3 separate regions of the Homo sapiens genome follow, and regions 1 and 3 are each linked to region 2. Evidence: promoter capture Hi-C in human tissues and cell types (Jung and others, 2019). All regions are on one chromosome and are shown on one strand. Each heading gives the region's core, a stretch centred on a gene start or on the middle of the fragment in contact. The rest is flanking DNA. Distances are from core to core; before and after follow the strand shown. Region 1 overlaps CFAP46 (cilia and flagella associated protein 46). Region 2 holds the start of NKX6-2 (NK6 homeobox 2). Region 3 overlaps INPP5A (inositol polyphosphate-5-phosphatase A).

Region 1 (2,700 bases), core at 39-2,538, 47 kb before region 2:
GCTGTTTGCAGAAGGGGCAGGAGCTCGGCCTTTCTGCAGGGGCCTGGCCCTCGCGGGGTCTGGGCCATGCGCCCTGTTTGCTACGGGGGCCTCTTTTTTGGATTGCGGTAGGAACCAGAAGGCCTGCAGGTGGAAGAGAAGGAGCGCCCTGTGCAGAGGCTCAGTAGCGTCCTGGGGCCCCTGGAGGAGCTTCTGCAGCCGCTATTCCCCCTGCTCAGCCTCTCCAAGGCCAGGTACTGGGGATGACGTTGAGGCTGGCACCCCACCACGCTCACGCATGGACACGTGTGTCCAGTGCTGTGGCCAACCACGTGTGCTTGCTGTGCCTTCTCGGCCGCCTTTGTTCAGGACTCGGCGCCGCCTGCCTGCTCCCAGGAAGCAATTCTTCTGGTTCTGCCTCCATTCCTGCCTGGAGGAGTACTGCCCACTGCCCACTGCCCACGGTCCCTCCAGCCCCTGGCCCAAGTGTGGGGTGGGAGGGCAAGCACCTCCAAGGGACCGCCCGGGCTGCTTTGATTTGGGGTGGGAAGGAAGGCAGAGGGGACGGACACCTGGCACCGTTTAGCTTGGCTGGTGGATCAGAGATGATCCCAAAATCCTGTGGCTCATCCCGGCCCCACCTCAGTGGGACCATCCCCAGAAGTGAGCGTGGGGATTCGTGGTGCTGCTGCCTTAGAGTGAAACAGGCTGAGCAGGTGTCGCCTATATTCCAAGCGTTTGTTATCTCTGTTTCTTAAACCCGAATATATAACCTGACTTTCAGAGTGCAGACACCTGCGGTTGTTGCCGATTCAGGGAAGTCGAAGGGCAAAGACAAGGAGAGGAAAACGTCCACAGGACAACACAGTGAGTGGGGCGGGCGTGGCCACTCAGCCTGGGGAGCTCATCCCGCCAGAAGAGGTGGGGTTGGGATCCACCCACCCATCCGGGAACGCCAGGGGGGGTCAGGAACCCAGGAGTCCCACAAGCCCTGCTGCTCCTTCCCCTGAGGCCTCCCTGCGCCTGAGGTCCCCGGAAGGTTCTCTGCACAGCCCTGGACCAGCCCTCTGGGTAGGAGGCTCTGTGCCAAGCCTCCTGAGAGCACCACGGAACCCAGCACAGCCACCTTCGCGTGGGTGGATTGTCAGCCCCGCCACACCACACGTGCTTGCTAACAAAAAGAATCGTGTGGAGGGACAGGCGTGATGGGAGGCTGTTCCTCGCCCCGTTCTGGGGCATCTGGAGGAGGAGGTGGCATGGAGTCAAGGCGGGCTGCCAGCCTTTCCCAGCGCCCAGCAGCCAAGTCAGAAGACGGAGCCCTGCGACCCCGTGGGAGGGGTCCCGTCTTCAGGAGCTGATCTCCCTGCACTGCTGTTTCCCAGGCACAGTCCAGCCTGAGGTTGCCGATAAGATAGTCCTGGTCGCAGACAGACATCTCCTGGAGCTGCCACTGGAAGGTCTCTCTGTGTTCGATGAAGGGACAATTTCCTCTGTGTCACGAGAATTTTCTCTTCAAATGCTGTGGAATCGCCTCCATAAAGAAGAGACAGGTAGGAACTGCCCTCAGCCACCTTAATGTGTAATTTTAAAATGGAAATATTTAAATTATTTTTCAGATGAAACAATGTTAGCTCCTATCAAGAAATAATCATCAAATGTTGCAACATTTTTCTAGGCATTTATTCATTCAAAGATATTTGTAGGATATAAATACTCACCAGCCTGGGCAACATGGTGAGAGTGCATCTCTACAAGAAAGTTTAAAATTAGCTGGGCATGGTGGTGTGCACCTGTGGTCCTGGCTACTCAGGAGGCTGGGAGGTGGGAGGATGGTTTGAGCCTGGGAGACTGAGGCTTTGGGGAGCTGAGATGGCGCCACTGCACTCCAGCCTGGGCAACAGAGTGAGACCCTGTCAAAAATAAAATATATATGTATATATATAAACACTCAAAACTATTTATAAAATACCTGCTATGTGCCAGTATCCTGGTGCTAAACACACAGGGAAGACAAACTTAACGCTGTTCTTGCCCCCACAAATACCTGTTTCAAAGGAGGGGACCAGATGTGTAGTAAACAGCCAGCCTCTCCGTTAATCACTCAGACAGTGAAAAGCACGAGGGAGCGCGCGGAAGGCCCTGACCTCGGCTGGGATTCGGGGGTGATGACATTCTGTGACTGAGTGCTGGCTGTGCAGACGTGCCCCGGTTGTGAAGCTTCCCCGAGCGCTACCCTTGCGGTACGTGCAGTTTTCTGCACTTCGGTATCAAATAAAATTAAAAATAAATCGATTGGACTTTTGCTTCCATCTCAGATGAAGTAACAGGGACCAGATTCGTTCTTCCAGCTGAGACAAATAAAAACCAGAGAAAAGCACATGAAATGAGGGTTTTCAAACATTGACGAGCAGTCCGCGCAGGACGGGGGGCCTCGAAGGGGGTTTGGCTGGCGAGCGCCATGGCCCACCCAGGTCTTACTCTCTGGGGAATTTCCAGGCCACAGCATTGGGGGGGGGGGGCAGGAAGAGCCCAGGGGTCTCCGCAAGTTGAGGACAGACAGTTTGGAGTCTGGGAAACTGACAACTACAACGTGCAGGGCGGGACACCTGGAAGGAGAGAGCTGCAAGGAACGGCCACTCCGAGATCTGCAGAGCCCTCAGCAGGAAGACAGCCACCACCTGTGTGCGAGTCCAGGGAAACAGACAGCTCTGAAAATAGTGA
Region 2 (2,700 bases), core at 1-2,500:
AGTTTGGCCGCAGGTGGCTTTTCCAAGCCGCCATCCAGGAGCGGCCGACGGCGCCAAGTCCCCGCCTCGACCTGCACAAAACGAAAACGGACGCTGGAGGGGGGCGAGGGGGCGGACGTGAGACCCCGGCCCCGAACCCCGGGCGCCGCCTTCCTCCGCGGCACAGGCCCGAGAGAGGCCACGCAGCGGCGTTCCCTGCGCACAGACTCGGGCTCCCCACGAGCCGTGGGCCACAGCCACAGCCGCCCCGTGTCCCTAAATCAATACGAGACGTCACCACAGACGTCGGAGCGTTTGCTCGCGGCCGCCGTGCGCGGGGCTCGGAGTCATCTCACCGCCCGGTCTGCGGGATGGATGAGCGAGCGGCTCCCGGTGCCGTGGGGGCGGGGGGGACACCGGCCCCCCGCGCGCGTCTAAGGCCGCGTTTCTGCCGCTGCGCCCCCAGCCCGCACCCACGTTCGGGCCCTGGACAGGGCTTCCGCGCTGAGGCCGTCCTGGTCTCTGTTCTCCCGGCCGGGGATTCGCGAGAGGCGGCCCGTGGGCGAAGTCGTGGGCCCAGGTCACATCCTGGGGGACCCCCAGCGGGAGACCTGGAGGCCGATGACGGGGAAGTGCCGAGCCGCGCGTGTGGTCCCGGGACCCGCCTCCCCGCCCCGCTCCCGCCTGCCTCACTCCTCCACCGCGCCGGCCGCGTGTCGGCGAAACCAGAGGCAGCTCCGTGCGAGCCTCGCCCGGCCGTGAGGCCCGTGGATTCCGTGGACTCGAGGCCCGCGTCCTCCGCCCTCCTGTGGCCCCGACCTGCCCGGAGCGCGTTCCCCGCCGGCGTCCGCTGCCGCTCACACCCACCCCAGCCACGGGCGGCGGAGCAGTCGCGACTGGGACGCGGGCCGGGACTCTTCCCCGAGTGGGGCGCTCCGAGCGCGCGGGCGGGTCCTCAAATCTGCATTCTTTCCGTTAATAAAATACGTTCTCGTATTTTTTCCTGATTTCGCATGAAAACCTTTGCCTAACTACACTCCCATCCAAGCTGGATTTATTTCGTCCCCGGGGAGATAAATCGGGGCGAATTTACAGCCCGGGAGGCACCTGCCGCGCTAATGGGCCCTTCATGGAGTGCGCGGCCGGCGGGGGCGCGCGGGCGGGGGGGGGGCGCCGGCCAATGGCCGGACCGCGGGGTCCGCAGCCAATCAGCGCGCGCGCCGCGCCCCGGGGAGCCCCCGTTATCAGCGCGTCCGTCCCGCGCGGCGCCGCTCCGACCGGCCCCGGAGCCGCCGCCGCCGCCGCCCGCCCGCCCGCCCCGCGCCGGAGCCGCCCGCCCGCCCCCCGCGCCCCGCGCCCCGCGCTGCAGCCGACGCCCGCCCGGGCCGCGCGCAAACTTCCCGGGCCGGCGGGCAGGGGCGGCGGCGGCGGGGCCCGGATGGGAGCCCGGGCCGGCGGCGGCGGCGCCCATGGACACTAACCGCCCGGGCGCGTTCGTGCTGAGCAGTGCCCCGCTGGCCGCGCTGCACAACATGGCCGAGATGAAGACGTCGCTGTTCCCCTACGCGCTGCAGGGTCCGGCCGGCTTCAAGGCGCCCGCGCTGGGGGGCCTGGGCGCGCAGCTCCCGCTCGGGACCCCGCACGGCATCAGCGACATCCTGGGCCGGCCCGTGGGCGCGGCGGGCGGGGGCCTCCTGGGGGGGCTGCCCCGGCTCAACGGGCTCGCGTCGTCCGCCGGCGTTTACTTCGGGCCCGCGGCCGCTGTGGCGCGCGGCTACCCCAAGCCCCTGGCCGAGCTGCCGGGGCGCCCGCCCATCTTCTGGCCCGGCGTGGTGCAGGGCGCGCCCTGGAGGGACCCGCGTCTGGCTGGCCCGGGTGAGTGGCCCGCGCGGGGGGTGCGGGGCGGGTGGGCGCGGAGGGGGACCCCGCCGGCCGCTGACCTCCCTCCCTTCCCCTCCCTTGCAGCCCCGGCCGGCGGCGTCCTGGACAAGGACGGGAAGAAGAAGCACTCGCGCCCGACCTTCTCGGGCCAGCAGATCTTCGCGCTGGAGAAAACCTTCGAGCAGACCAAGTACCTGGCGGGCCCGGAGCGCGCGCGTCTCGCCTACTCGCTGGGCATGACCGAGAGCCAGGTGAAGGTGAGCGCGGCGGGGCTCGGGAGAGCAGAGCCGGGGGCCCGCGTCCTGCGAACGGCCCCAGCGCCAGCCCCGGGCCCCGCGGCCGCCTGACCGCCCCGTCCACTCCCAGGTCTGGTTCCAGAACCGCCGGACCAAGTGGCGCAAGCGGCACGCGGTGGAGATGGCGTCGGCCAAGAAGAAGCAGGACTCGGACGCCGAGAAGCTGAAGGTGGGCGGCTCGGACGCGGAGGACGACGACGAATACAACCGGCCCCTGGACCCCAACTCGGACGACGAGAAGATCACGCGGCTGCTCAAGAAGCACAAACCCTCGAACTTGGCGCTGGTCAGCCCGTGCGGCGGCGGCGCGGGGGACGCCTTGTGAGGACCCGCGGGGTGGGGGCGAATCTATTTTTGCAGAATCCGGGGGCGGCCCCGGGTGGGCGCGAGTCGCTTTGTATCATCAATAAATTATTTAACGGGTCCCCGTCGGAGCCGTCGCTCCGGAGCCTGCGCCGCGTGTTTCTTCCGTCTCGAACCCGGAGCGAGGCGGCCCCTCCCCGGCCCCGGCTTCGCCCCTGCGCCCGCCTCGGGTCCTCCGGGT
Region 3 (2,700 bases), core at 44-2,543, 40 kb after region 2:
TCTGATGGACCCCAGAGCCCAGGAAGGGGCCGGCCACCCCAAACCCCTCCCCAGAGCTGCCTCATTCACAGGCTGTAAAGGAGTGATCAGGCCAGGCTGAAGGGGCCAAAGCTGGCCTGTTCCCTTTGCCTTTCAATCCAGCAAAGTCGTGGCCACTCATGCGGAAAGTGGCCAGGCTGGGCCTTTCCGGCTCGCCTACTTTGGGAAGGGATTCTTCTCTTTTGAAAGGAGAAACAAATACCCTAAATGCTATGTTTAAAAAGCCATCTAAGATGTATTTCATTATTAGCAGCCGCAAGGAGAGGCTCTGGAAAGAGTGGTCCGGTGTGCCGTCTTATCCACACTTAGAATTTAACGGGAACGCTGTGTGCCAGGGTCATCCACACGCGTGTGGATCACGAAGTTCCTGCATTTCTTCTTACTGTTTGGATAACCAAGGAGGCATGCTGCCTGGACAGGGCGTCCACAGGCCCAGGGCACAGGTGTCAGCCCAGGAGAAAGGCTGTTTTCTGTGCAAGGAAATAACGCAGTCATTCGGATGTGCACGGAGCTGCATGGCAGGCAGAGTCGCCCCAATGTGCACCTGTGCAGTTGGTCTCACGTTGGGAGCTGAATCTGTCCCATCACCCCCTCAACTGTCCCGGACACTCTGCCACAAAATCCAAAACTCTACTAAAGGCAAACACATCCTCTCAGACCCTGTCAGCCCAAGTTTTTAAATGCAACCTTCAAGAGCTGGTTTATAAAAACAAAAAGTTGTTCTGTACTCTCTGAAATGAATCCTCGCTGGCTGTAGCCTCCAGGCACCGCACGCACAGCCAGCAGGCGCCTGGGCTCCACTCTCTACCTGGAATCACCAGGTGTCCAGAGCGCCCTGCCTGGGCCAAGTGGACACACAGCCTCGGGGGCCCACTCAGGGCTCCGAAGAAGCCATCTGGGCACACGTGCAGGCAACGCCGAGGCCCTACCCCAGGCTTGGCTTCTAGGTCCTGCCAAGGCGTCTCAGGGTAGGCAGGGTAGGCGAGGCTGGGTGGGCAGCATGTGTTGCTCTTGTGGCTGAGCTGGGAGCTCTCACGCACCCGCCTGTTCTCCAGGACACACTCCTCCTCGGGGGCCACCACACCCGGGCCCACCACACCCGAGGCCACCATGGCCGGGCCCACCATGCCCAGGCCCACCATACCCAGGGCCACCACACCCGAGGCCACCACGCCAGAAGCCCACCATGCCCGGGCCCACCATACCCAAGGCCACCACAGCTGAGGCCCACCACGCCCGAAGCCCACCACGCCTGGGCCCACCACACCCGAGGCCACCATGCCTGAAGCCCACCATGCCCAGGGCCACCACACCCGAGGCCACCACGCCCGAGGCCCACCACACCCAGGGTCTGACACACTGTGGGCCCACCACACCCGAGGCCCGGGCTGGGGCCAGTGCCAGCCGTGACATGCCTCACATGAGGAGGAAGGTCCCAGCAGGGCCCAGCACAGATGCTGCCCGGACTCGGGAAGGGAAAGCTGGGATCCCAGGGGTGCAGCTCAGGCACTGGAAAAGCAATCAGGCTCGAAGGCTGGGAGATGCCCCTCCTGCCACACGGAGAGTCCAGTTCCCTGGTTACTCCCTGGTGGTCAACACACTCCCAGGCAGACAAGGGAATCCGTTAGTCACTGGGGCCACAAACCTCCTTCCTAGGGCCAGAGCCTGGCAACAGGGACAGCCCCAGCCCTCACCTTCCCAAAGGGGAGGTGTCCCCAGGAGCATCGTGGCCTCCAGGAGCTCGCGAGGGGATGGAGGACCCCGTCCTCTGTGGCAGGCAGGCAGAACCACCTGCCCCAAGATCAAAGGCTGACAGGCCATAGCGCCCTCCCACCACGTCACCCTGTGTCCCCAGGCCCTCCCAGAACCGCCCAAGCTCGCCTGGAGCAGAGGCAAATGCACCTCTGTGGCCTCCTGAGCCAGCCACTGGCTCGGGCACACCCTGTCCCCAAGCCTGTGCCACGGGAGAGGCGGGCAGCCCGGGCCTCGCAAGCTGCCAGGGGCTGCACCGCCGGGCCCAGGACAGCACTTTCGGGAGGGACAACGGTGCCGTGGTCTGTGGCGGCATGTCTAACATGGCGGCTGCACAAAGTGAGGCTGAGGTTGAATCCTAACCTTCCTCAGTGGATAGAAATCAGTCAGCCCTGCAGGTCGCCTCAGGCTCAGGGACAGCCCGGCCTCATGAAGCCTGGGAATCCCAACAACTTCTTCCTCTCCTTGAGAGCCGTGTCCTCTGTCTCACCTCAATGCAGGGAGTAAAAGGGCGTTCACAGTTAAATAAAATAAAAACGAACCACAAAGCCAACGTTGCCCCCGAATCTAGAAACACCACAGGCAGCTACTAAGGGGCAGATTCTAGTGCGTTCTTAAGGAATGAAACCATCATCAAGGAAATAAGGCTTTTTTCCTCCAAACTGAGACCCCCTAAAGGAGCCGGTATTGAAACTCCCCCATCTGCCCGACACCTACGGGCATATCCCACCATGAACGGGATGTCCGCTGACACCGATTCCATAGACACAGGGACCGGTGGAGCCGCAGTGTCCCACCCTCCCGGGGGTCCTGGAATTCCTGATCTGGCCATTGCCTCGGTGACAGCGGCCGCTCTGCTGCGGGAGCAGGGCCTCCTGGGAGGCCTGTGGGTGGTGGGGGATGGCTCAC

Evidence for each region. Contacts are between HindIII fragments. The study calls those that stand out against the background at their distance.
Region 1: a fragment that was not itself captured here is called in contact with the fragment with the promoter of NKX6-2 in region 2 in 2 of the 25 tissues and cell types used here (dorsolateral prefrontal cortex and mesendoderm cells).
Region 3: a contact is called between a fragment that was not itself captured here and the fragment with the promoter of NKX6-2 in region 2, in 1 of the 25 tissues and cell types used here (aorta).

The regions. Positions count from the first base shown.
Region 1 is chr10:132,832,187-132,834,886 of GRCh38, reverse strand. CFAP46 (cilia and flagella associated protein 46) reads left to right here. Exons shown (of 58, transcript NM_001200049.3): 48 at 112-233; 49 at 764-846; 50 at 1,362-1,529. Among named protein-coding and RNA genes, the nearest start is that of NKX6-2, 47 kb to the right of the region's middle. The HindIII fragment of the contact is 6,011 bases long and covers 1-2,700 here.
Region 2 is chr10:132,784,697-132,787,396 of GRCh38, reverse strand. It overlaps NKX6-2 (NK6 homeobox 2), which reads left to right and starts at 1,250. Exons shown (of 3, transcript NM_177400.3): 1 at 1,250-1,854; 2 at 1,945-2,117; 3 at 2,227-2,700. The coding sequence starts at 1,449. The coding sequence ends at 2,481. The HindIII fragment of the contact is 14,696 bases long and covers 1-2,700 here.
Region 3 is chr10:132,744,305-132,747,004 of GRCh38, reverse strand. The region is part of intron 9 of INPP5A (inositol polyphosphate-5-phosphatase A); the gene reads right to left. Among named protein-coding and RNA genes, the nearest start is that of NKX6-2, 40 kb to the left of the region's middle. RefSeq lists an enhancer at 759-1,294 and a silencer at 2,211-2,392. The HindIII fragment of the contact is 8,826 bases long and covers 1-2,700 here.